2 separate regions of the Homo sapiens genome follow, and region 1 is linked to region 2. The links are contacts of gene promoters, found by promoter capture Hi-C in human tissues and cell types (Jung and others, 2019). All regions are on one chromosome and are shown on one strand. Each heading gives the region's core, a stretch centred on a gene start or on the middle of the fragment in contact. The rest is flanking DNA. Distances are from core to core; before and after follow the strand shown. Region 1 has its middle 31 kb from the start of ADCY9. Region 2 holds the start of CREBBP (CREB binding lysine acetyltransferase).

Region 1 (5,521 bases), core at 1,658-4,157, 270 kb after region 2:
TCCTCAAGTTCATTCATCTTATAGCCTGTCTCAGAATCCTGTCATTTTTAAAAGATGCTTACTGGATCATCAAAAAACATTGATGAGCTTCTGCTGTAGGCAGGGCCTGTACTCTCCAGTCCAACTAAAAAGAGGTAAATGACAGAGTCTCTGCTCCAAGGTGTCAGACAACCAATTTCACTTTTAATTTTTTTGTTGTTGTTGAGATTTCTGGAATCTGTCTTCTGCAATTAATAGGTTCACCTGGAGAAATAGTCTGTAGTCTACAGGCTAGTGTGGAAAGCCATTTTCAAAGGTGAAGAGGAAGGCCAGGTAGGCCAGGTATGTTGGCTGCCTCTCATATAGTAGCATGGGACCCCTTAAAAGTGAAATTGGCCGGGTGCAGTGGCTCATGCTTGTAATTCCAGCACTTCAGGAGGCCAAGGCAGGAGAATTGCTTGAGCCCAGGAGTTCAAGACCAGTTTGGGCAACATAGTGAGGCCCCATCTCTAAATATATATATATATATATATATATATATATATATATATATATATATATATATATATATATGTACACACAAAAATCAGCCAGGCGCGGGCCAGGCGCGGTGGCTCACACCTGTAATCCTAGCACTTTAGGAGCCCAAGGCGGGCAGATCACGAGGTCAGGAGATCCAGACCATCCTGGCTAACACGGTGAAACCCCATCTCTACTAAAAATACAAAAAATTAGCCAGGCGTGGTGGCGGGCGCCTGTAGTCCCAGCTACTTGGGAGGCTGAGGCAGGAGAATGGCATGAACCTGGGAGGCAGAGCTTGCAGTGAGCTGAGATCACGCCACTGCACTCCAGCCTGGGTGACAGAGCGAGACTCCATCTCAAAAAAAATTAGCCAGACGTGGTGGCATGTGCCTGTGGTCCCAGCTGCTCAGGAGACTGAGAAAGGAGAATCTCTTGAACCTGGGAGGCAGAGGTTACAGTGAGCCGAGATCACGCCACTGCACTCAAGCCTGGGTGACAGAATGAGACTCCGTATAAAAAACCAACAAACAAACACAAAATGTCTTTCAGCAGCATGGTGGCTGACACCTATAATCCCAGAACTTTGGCAGGCCAAAGTATGAGTATCGAGGCCAGGAGTTCAACATCAGCCTGGGCAACATAGCAAGACTCTGTTTCTATACAAATTTTTTAAAACTTAACTAGACCAGGCATGGTGACTCACACCTGTAATCCCAACACTTTGGGAGGCTGAGGTGGGAGAATCACTTGAGCTCAGGAGTTCGAGACCAGCCTGTCCAACATGGTGAAACCCTGCCTCTACTAAAAACACAAAAATTAGTCAGGCATGGTGGCAGGCACTTGTAATCCCAGCTACTCGGGAGGCTGAGGCAGGAGAATTGCTTGAACCCAGGAGGCAGAGGTTGCAGTGAGCCAAGATCTAGCAACTGCACTCCAGCCTGGGGAACAGAGAGACTCTGTCTCAAAAATAAATAAATAATAATTAACCAGACCACAGGCCTGCAGTCCCAGCTACTCAGGGAGGCTGAAGAGGGAGGATCTCTCGAGCCTAGGGTGTCGAGGCTGCAGTGAACCATGACCCCACCACTGCATTCACTTCCGTCTGGGTGACAGAGACAGACTCTGCCTCCAAAAACAAAAAATTAATTCTGGGGGGTTCCTCCCCTGAAGAGCTTTTCTTGAGAGATCATGAATTGACTCATGGTAAAGTGTTAGAAACAGTGTCAAATGGATCTTGAAGAGCTCATGACCCTGCCCAATGCAGGCGTCTCTGTAGCATCTGCTTGTTTATTCCAGGGATACAGAAATCAGAGTCCCAGGAAGCCTGTCCCGTGGCTGTACAGCTCCTTGAAAGCTCCTCCCCTCCCAATATGGCATTGGGAGCAAATATTCTCCTACTTCAAGGCAGTATTGAAAGCTCCCCAAGCACCTCTCCTGCGAACCCCAGCTTTCCCAGGTCTTCCTTGCAGCCTTTCTCTCTTTTTTTTTTTTTTGAATCAGGGTCTCACTCTGTCACCCAGGCTGAAGTGCAGTAGCATGAATGTGGCTCACTGCAGTCTCAACCTACTGGGCTCAAGGAGATATTCTCCTGCCTCAGCCTCCTAAGTAGCTGGGACCACTGGTGTGCACCATCACATCCAGCTAATTTTTTTTTGGTGGGGGTGTGGGTGGAGTTTCGCTCCTGTCACCCAGGCTGGAGGGCAGTGGTGCAATCTCTGCTCACTGCAACCTCCGCCTCCTGGGTTCAAGTGATTCTCCTGCCTCAGCCTCCTGAGTAGCTGGGGTTACAGGCACGCGCCACCACACTTGGCTAATTTTTGTATTTTTAGTAGAGATGGGGTTTCACTTTGTTGGCCAGGCTGGTCTCGAACTCCTTAGCTCAGATTATCCATTTGCCTCAGCCTCCCAAAGTCCCTCAGCTGGGATTACAGGCATGAGCCACCACACCCAGCCCCAGCTAATTCTTAAAATTGTTATAGAGATGGGGTCTCCCTATGTTGCCCAGGCTCGTCTCAAACTCCTGGGCTCAAAGATCCTCCCACCTCAGCCTCCTGAAGTGCTGGGATGACGGGTGTGAGCTGCCATGCCGGGCCTGGCCTGCCTTTCAGACTCCCCGCTATCCAGGATGCCTCTGATTGGCCCCTCCAAATTATCAGTAAGACCTCTGCCTATGTGAGACAAAACTGCAAAGACAAAGTATGGTGTCCCAATTATTTTTGTGTATGCACCCACACATTGACGTAGCCTAGTAACCTAGAGAAAACAAAAGGCTTCCAACTGAGGGAGCACAAGAGCTCCAAGGGCAGTCACAGTTGTGTGAGGGTGGCACCCCTGGATACCAGCGGCAGCGATTCCGAGTCAGTTCTCACAGTGGGTAGGCATTACGGTGGGGAGGCTTGTGGAATAAGGAAGAGAGGAAGCTTAGCCACGGCGCCAGCCCTCAAAGGAGCCTTGGGAAAGTCAAAACACCTAAGCCTTCTGGGGAAAGCAAGAGTCCCAGGAGAGCGAGGCCCCCCAGGCACCGGAAGTGGAAGTCCACTGGAAACCCAAGGCTGCTCCGACAGCAGCCTGTCTGGTAGACCCTCAGGCAACTGCCATTCATGGGCCCCTTCCACAGTGCTCTGCCATTAAAGCCACTCAGCTTCCTTCTCTGCCTCTTCTCATCCATTTCTTGGCTTCTCCTGTCCTACCAAATCCGTGGTTGGTACTACATTTTCTAGTCCCGTAGGGCAGGGCTGTCCAAGCCTGGGCCTCACCAAGGCCACTGGCCACTGTTGCTCAGGGGGAAGCCTCACACTGTGCATCAGAAGCTGGAGACACTGCAGCTTCTCTCAGGAGGGGACCGTAAGCACAGGCAGCCTGTGGCTGATCTGTGTGGGACACCCAGGGTCGAGAAGGGAGGACCAAGGTGTTCACTGCAATGGAACACAGCCTTACTAGCTGTCATGTCCCCCAGACAGCAAATTGGCTTGATTGCAATAACCAGTTGGAGAGGACAAAGTGAGAATCACCCCATGTGACCAGCTGCTTCTTGACGGTGATCATTTTGGGTGCTGAATCGAGCTCCAACCCCAAACATCAGCCCCATAATTGCCCATCAACCATTTCACCTTCACCTTTCTGGGGCTTCCAGGTTCCTTCATTAAAATAAAAAATGCTATTTGGGAATAAATTTAACAAAAGATATGCAAATCTTTTCCACTGAAAGCTGTAACACATTATTGAAAGAAATTACAGAAAATCTAAATAAATGAAGAAATGTACCATGTTCATGGATTAGAAAATTCAATATTGTTAAAATGTCAATTGTCTCAAATTAATCTATAGACTCAATGTAATCCCAAGTAAAATTCCAGAATGCAGACTGGCATGGCCAAAGCAGAAGGATCACTTGAGCTCAGGAGTTTGAGACCAGCCTAGGCAACATGACAAAACCTCATCTCTACAAAAAAATAGAAGTGTTAGCCAGTCATGGTGGAATGTGTCTGTAGTCCCAGCTACTCAGGAGACTGAGGTGGGAGGACTGCTTGAGCCCAGGAGGGTGAAGCTACAGTGACTATGATCATGCCACTGCACTCCAGCCTGGGTGACAGAAAAAGACCCTCTCTCAAAAAAAAAAAAAAAAAAAATTAAAAAAAACCAGAAAGCTTTTTTTAGAAATTGGCAAGCAGATTCTAAAATGTAAGTGGAAATGAGAAGGACCTAGAATAGCCAAAATAATCCTAATAAGGAAAAAATTCAGAGGACTTACACTGGCTGATTTTAAGAACTGCTATAAACAGCAGTAGCTAAGACCATTTGGTAGTGGCGTTAGGATACACAAAATAGAATCAATGGAGCAGAAAACAGAGTCCAAAAATAGACCTACATAAATATGGCCAACTGATTCCCAACAAATGTACCAAGGTAATTCAATGGAGAAAGAAAAACCTTTCAACAAATGGGCTAGAATAATTGTCTATTTGTAAGGAAAAACAAATTGCCTATTTGTAAGGAAAACAAATGAACCTCAACTCCTTTTTTTTTTTTTTTAAGACAGAGTCTCACTCTGTCGCCCAGGCTGGAGTGCAGTGGTGCCATCTCGGTTCACTGCAAGCTCCACCTCCCAGGTTCACGCCATTCTCCTGCCTAAGCCTCCCTAGTAGCTGGGACTACAGGCACCCGCCACCACGCCTGGCTAATTTTTTGTATTTTTTTTTTTTTAGTAGAGACAGGGTTTCACCGTGTTGGCCAGGATGGTCTCGATCTCCTGACCTCGTGATCTGCCCGCCTTGGCCTCCCAAAGTGCTGGGATTACAGGCGTGAGCCACCGCACCCGGCCCCTCAACTTCTTACATCACACCAAAAAATTAAATTGAAATAGATCCAAGACCTAAATAAAAAATTAAATTCATAAAGCATCTAAAACATAGGAAAATAACTTCATGACTTTGAGATGGGCAAATATTTCTAAGGCAAAACACAAAAAGCATTCCATAAAAAATTAATAAACAAATTCATCAAAATTTTAAATTTTGAGTACAGTCACCAGAATGGCTACAATTAAGCAGACTGACAACACCAAATGTTGGCAAAAATATGGAGTAACTAGAACCGTCGTATGTTGTTGATGGGAGTGTAAAATAACAAAACCGCTTTGGGCCAAGCACGGTGGCTGACGCCTGTAATCCCAGCACTCTGGGAGGCCAAGGCGGGCGGATCATGAGGTCAGGAGATAAGACCATCCTGGCAACCAAAAATTAGCCAGGCTTGGCAGTGTGCGCCTGTAGTCCCACCTACTCGGGAGGCTGAGGCAGGAGAATTGCTTGAACCCGGGAGGCGGAGCTTGCAGTGAGCCAAGATGGTGCCACTGCACTCCAGCCTGGCGACAGAGCGAGACTCCGTCTCAAAAACAAAACAAAAAAAAACTGCTTTGGAATACTGTCTAATGGTTTCCTTTTTTTTTTTTTTTTTTTTTTTTTTTTTTGAGACCGGGTCTCTTTCTGTTGCCCAGGCTGGAGTGAGATGGTACAATCACTGC
Region 2 (4,997 bases), core at 1,948-4,447:
CCTCAGCCTCTCAAGTAGCTGGAATTACAGGTGCATGTCACCATGCCTGGCTATGTTTTTGTATTTTGAGTACAGATGGGGTTTCCCCATGTTGGCCAGGCTGGTCTTGAACTCCTGACCTGAAGTTGATCCACCAGCCTCCGCCTCCCAAAGTGCTGGGATTACAGGCATGAGCCATGGCGCCCAGCAGCCCCTTGTTTAATGTGCTTGATAATGAGCCCTTCCTTGGTCCCCCATACTAACAGACCCTTTCACAATAGTGTGATGGTGATGAATGTGTAACACATGACCCAACTTAAGTATGATGTTGACTTTCTACTTTGGATTAAATCGGAGCCATTTAAAGCTGACTTTTGGTCCCACGAAAGAGCCCCTGTGCCTTACAAGGATCAAAATTGTAAAGGAAGGGGGAAAAGGTGGTTAAGTGTGGAAAATCCTTTCTGATCAACTTATTAAGCATCTGATCATCCAATAATGGACACTACTATGGAAAAAGCTAACCTTTGGGCTCCATCTTGGAAACAGCTGGATGTACATATAAGGACATGCCTTTTTGTTAAGTCTTGTGTTACTAATTGTCCCCCTTTTTAAGACAAAATCTACAACAAATTCATTCAACAACAGCAAAGCTACAAAGCCATCCAGGTTACCAGTTTCAGAAGACAAGCTTCAAAGCTGAACTCGCCACGTATGACCTACGTCTCACAGAACTGAAGACTACTCAAACACAGCAAGATTAATGAAGCAACGGAGATCTGTTTTGCAGTACAACGGCATTTAAACTACTGTTTCCAAATTTCTCACTTCAATAAGTTCATTTTATAAGATTAACGTCAAACTCAACTTTTATCAGCTAAAAAGAAAAGCATTAGTGATTTTTATATACCATGAGCATCATTTACTCCTCCCCACTGTTTAACAAATTTTAACTAGATAAGAATCTCCTTATGATTGATCTTTAAAAATCGCTTTTCACTTCTACATTAATATTAAACGTCGCTTATCATAACTTGATTCCAGGAATTGTATTCAAACTTAAGCCACAAAATTCAGGTTTTGTTTCAACAGCAATAGCAGTTTTTTTTAATATGCTAGTGGTCGGTCACAGAACTATTTCCACAAGTTGAACAGCTGTGTCTAGTGCAAATCTGAAGGCAGCGATGTAATTCAATTTGGACTCATTCATTAGAAACTGATTTTCAGATGCTACCACTGCAAGACTACTGGAGAAATGCAAGCTGCGCTGGAGATGGAATTGTTCGCAGCGGCACACAAGTTTTTGCGGCAAAGGAGAGAGCTCTAAAAGAGGAAATACAACTAGTTCATGTTACCATGAACCAGCGCAGTGGGACCCAGAATTACTGAATTAATAGAAAACTAAATACTTCTCTTAAGCAGCTATGATAACTTAAGAAAGTTTCCAGGGAAGCCGTTTAATGAAAGGAAACAAACAAAAAGATGATTTATTCAGTATCCTGCTCCATTTTTTTGAAAAATTGGAATTCCTACATTCCTTAATTCTTTGTACATCTACACTGTGAAAGCAACACAAACTCAAATGGAGATTGCAGCCCAAATGAACTTAAACCTGCTGTTTAACTTTCTTTTGAAGTTATACATGGAAATGAAACACACCACAGCAACTTTCATGACATCTTGCTAACGAAGTTTGGGTTTTGAAAAATGGAATGACTAGTTGACTAAAAACACACACGCGCGCACACACACACACACACACACACACACAAAACAAGGAGTTTTGAAAATAAGCACTAAGCATCTTTCCAAGGAACTCACTCATTCCAAGAAACTTCGGTTCTAACTCGCAAGCTGGCGGCTGCTGTGAGTGTCCTCTGAATGCAGCCTGGTCAATGTGTCGCCAATCCAGAAAACACACTGCCCTACCTTTGGCCGCGATCTTGCTTTCTCTAAGCATCAAAGGTACCCTCCGCTGTCATTCCTCTGGACGGCCACGCGTGTGGACACGGCCGCGGATGGATGCGTAGGACATTACCAAACAAACCCACACGCTGCACTTTACTTCTTCCCTCCTGGAGTGCCACTAGGGTCCCCGCGAGGAGGGCTGATCGGGTGCGGGGAGGCCGAGTGCACCGGGCGTGTGCTGACCAACTCGGGCCCAGTGACAGTCCTGCGACGAACTTCCACCCTCCCGCGCGGGGCGAGGGGAACGGGCTGCGGGGCCTGCTCCGAGCTCCCGGCTCGATCGGTATCCGCGACCACGACCCCCGGACGCTCTCTTTCAGGTGGGGGTGACAGCGCGCCCCGGGCCCCCGCCGCCCCGGACCCCCTCCTCACCTGTGCTGTCATTCGCCGAGAAACCGGGCGAGCTGAGTTTGGCTCTTTTGGGGTTGGGCGGTCCGTCCAGCAAGTTCTCAGCCATTTTCACCTGCTCGCGAAAACAGCCCCGGGCACGGGCGGCCGGGCCGGCGAGGGCCCGGACGGGGGTCGGGGGCCCTGCCGGCTGCGAGGGAGAGGAGCGAGCGCGGGCCGCGAGCGGGCGGGCGGGCGCCGAGGGAGAGGGAGGGCGCAGGCCGGGTGGGGGAGGCGGCGGCCAAATCTCAGCCACAGCAACAGCGCCCCGCAGCGCTCACCGCCCGCCCCCGGCCGCCGCCGCCGCCGCCGGCCGCGGCCCCCTCATCCCCTGCCCGCCTCCCGAGCGCGACACTCCGCGGTGGGGGCGCCCCGGCGGCCCGGCCGCCCCCCCGGGCCCGGCTGGCAGCGACGGCGCCCGGCCGGGCGGCTCAGGCAGTCCCCGAGAACATGGTGCCGCCGCCGCCGCCGCCTCGCTCCCCCCCCGCGCCCCACTTAATGAATTCGCTCGCGGCCCGACGACGAGGGGGCTCCGGGCTCCGCTCCCGGCCCGCGGCCCGCCGCCGCCGCCGCCGTGAGGAAAAACAATGCGCCGAGCGGGGTCGCCGCCGCCGCCGCGGCCCCCCCACCCCCCGTTCCGCCGCCGCCGCCGCCGCTGCCGCCGCCGCCGCCGCCGGGCTCCGGGAGGCCGAGCCGAGAGGCGAGCGGGGCCGCCGGGGCGGGCGCCGAGGGCCGGGCGGAGCGGGCCGGCCGGGCGGAGCGGGGTGCGCGGGCGGTTGTGGGGCCCGGGACCGGCGGGGCCGAGTAGATCGCGCTCGAAGCCCCGGTCGGGTCCGCGACAAGATGGCGGCTGTTGATTCCTCAATTAAAAAAAAAAGAAAGTTTTTTTTCTTCTCTTTCCAGAGCCTGAACGGGGAGGGGGTGGGGGCGGGGCACGCCGGTGCGTCACCCCCCCGCGGCGTCACCACGCACGGCCCCCGCCCCGCCCCCTCCACCTGCGCCGGCCGTGGCGGAAAGAGCCGAGCGTGCTCGGGCCGAAGGGCTGAAGGCGCGGCCGCCAAGCGTAGGGAAGCTGGCGGCCCGGCGCGGGCCAGGCCTGCGGGGCGCCTGGGCTCCGGGCTGAGCCACAGCTTTTGTTCTGATGGCGACCAGGCGTAGAGGGCCGGGGCTCCGGGCCCCAGCGGGCTCCGGGAGCGGCGGCCTGGCCGCGGGCTGGGCTCTCGGGCGCGGATTCGACGCCAGCCCGGGCCCGCCCGTCCCGCTGGGGCGGCGCTGCGTGTTCCCAGCTCCTCGCGTCCCCTTCCCCAGACCCTCCTAGGTGGCGTCGGTCGGGAACGGTCGGGGCGACCCCAGCCCAGGCCGCGCCACTAGCCTTCGCCGCCGGCCAGGGAAGTGGAATGGCCTCTGCAGGTTACAGACCGCCCTTGGGTCCTGCCGACGAGGTGGGCGGATGGGGAAACTGAGGCGGGGGGCGAGCAACTGCTCCAAAGTGGTCGAGGCAGGAAGTGGCAGGGCCGGGATTCGGGTCCCGCCCTACCTCGTGACACTAGGGAGTGAGGGGGCCTCACGCCTGTTCGCATCCCAAGGCGGCAGGGCAGACACCCTCACCTGTGAGAGCGGGGTGGCGAGGGCCGGCCTGGGCGGAGAAGGGCCCGCGCATCGGGGCTTAAGCCTGGACGCTCAGGCCGCACTCCCCGCCCCAGGCAACTTGCCTGGCGCCTCGCAGGTGCCCCAGACAGGGGTGCGGGCCTGGGGAGTCCCCCACGCGAGACCACAGCCCGCGGGACACTTCTACGAATACCCGAGGTGTTCCCATCCCAGTTAGTTATCTGCCCCTCCAAACTTGCCCGGCTTCCTCATAAAGGTATCAGCAGCTCCACTGTTTCCTAAGCCAGAAACCCGTGAGTCAGCGCGGACTCCTCCCTCTCACCCGCCACGCGCCCCTCTACCCACGGTCTTTACCTGGGAGACTGCTCCTCCCGCACTGTCCCGGTGGCTATGGTGGCAGCTACTCACTTAAGTGTTCTTTGCTCTCCACGTTGCTCCCCACGCAGCACCAGAGTTAACATCCCGAAAAGAGAGGGAGAAAATCTGTTTAAAACAACTCCCTGGCCAGGCGCGGTGGCAGATCACCTGAGGTCAGGAGTTCAAGACCAGCCTGGCCAACATGGTGAAACCCCATCTCTACCAAAAATACAAACATTAGCTGGGCGTGGCGGCGTGCGCCTGTAATCCCAGCTACTCGGGAGGCTGAGATGCGAGAATCACTTGAACTGGGGAGGCCAGTAAGCCGGGATCTCGCCATTGCACTCCATCCTGGGCGACAAGAGTGAAACTCCGTCTCAAAAACAAAACAAAACAAAACAAAATCCCAGACATAGAAAAAGAAAACACTACATAGTCTTTCTTTAAAAAAGAACACGTATGAATTCTCTTAAAAACATAGGTGTATGTACATATGGTGACTGTCCTTGAGTGTCAAGATTGAGTGATCGTTCTGCTTTTCTCTGTTTACCTGTACTGCTCAAAATCTTGGGCCGTGATACCGCTCTTGAATCTGTCTCTTCTACTTTACATGGCTCACTTCACCATCATCATCCTACACCCACTTGGCCAGTAGGCAGTTCACATCATTCAGGCTTTTTTTTTTTTTTTTTCAAATGCTG

The links. The method cuts DNA at HindIII sites, captures the fragments that hold promoters and counts their contacts. A contact is called where the count stands out against the background at its distance.
Region 1: a fragment that was not itself captured here is called in contact with the fragment with the promoter of CREBBP in region 2 in 1 of the 25 tissues and cell types used here (small bowel).

Annotation. Positions count from the first base shown.
Region 1 is chr16:4,144,557-4,150,077 of GRCh38, forward strand. No RefSeq gene overlaps it. Among named protein-coding and RNA genes, the nearest start is that of ADCY9, 31 kb to the left of the region's middle. RefSeq lists an enhancer at 2,598-3,129. The HindIII fragment of the contact is 3,902 bases long and covers 957-4,858 here.
Region 2 is chr16:3,877,516-3,882,512 of GRCh38, forward strand. CREBBP (CREB binding lysine acetyltransferase) reads right to left here and starts at 3,198. Exons shown (of 31, transcript NM_004380.3): 1 at 2,317-3,198. The coding sequence starts at 2,401. RefSeq lists silencers at 2,187-2,236, 2,317-2,366, 2,407-2,716, 3,054-3,103, 3,124-3,673 and an enhancer at 2,877-3,453. The HindIII fragment of the contact is 21,091 bases long and covers 1-4,997 here.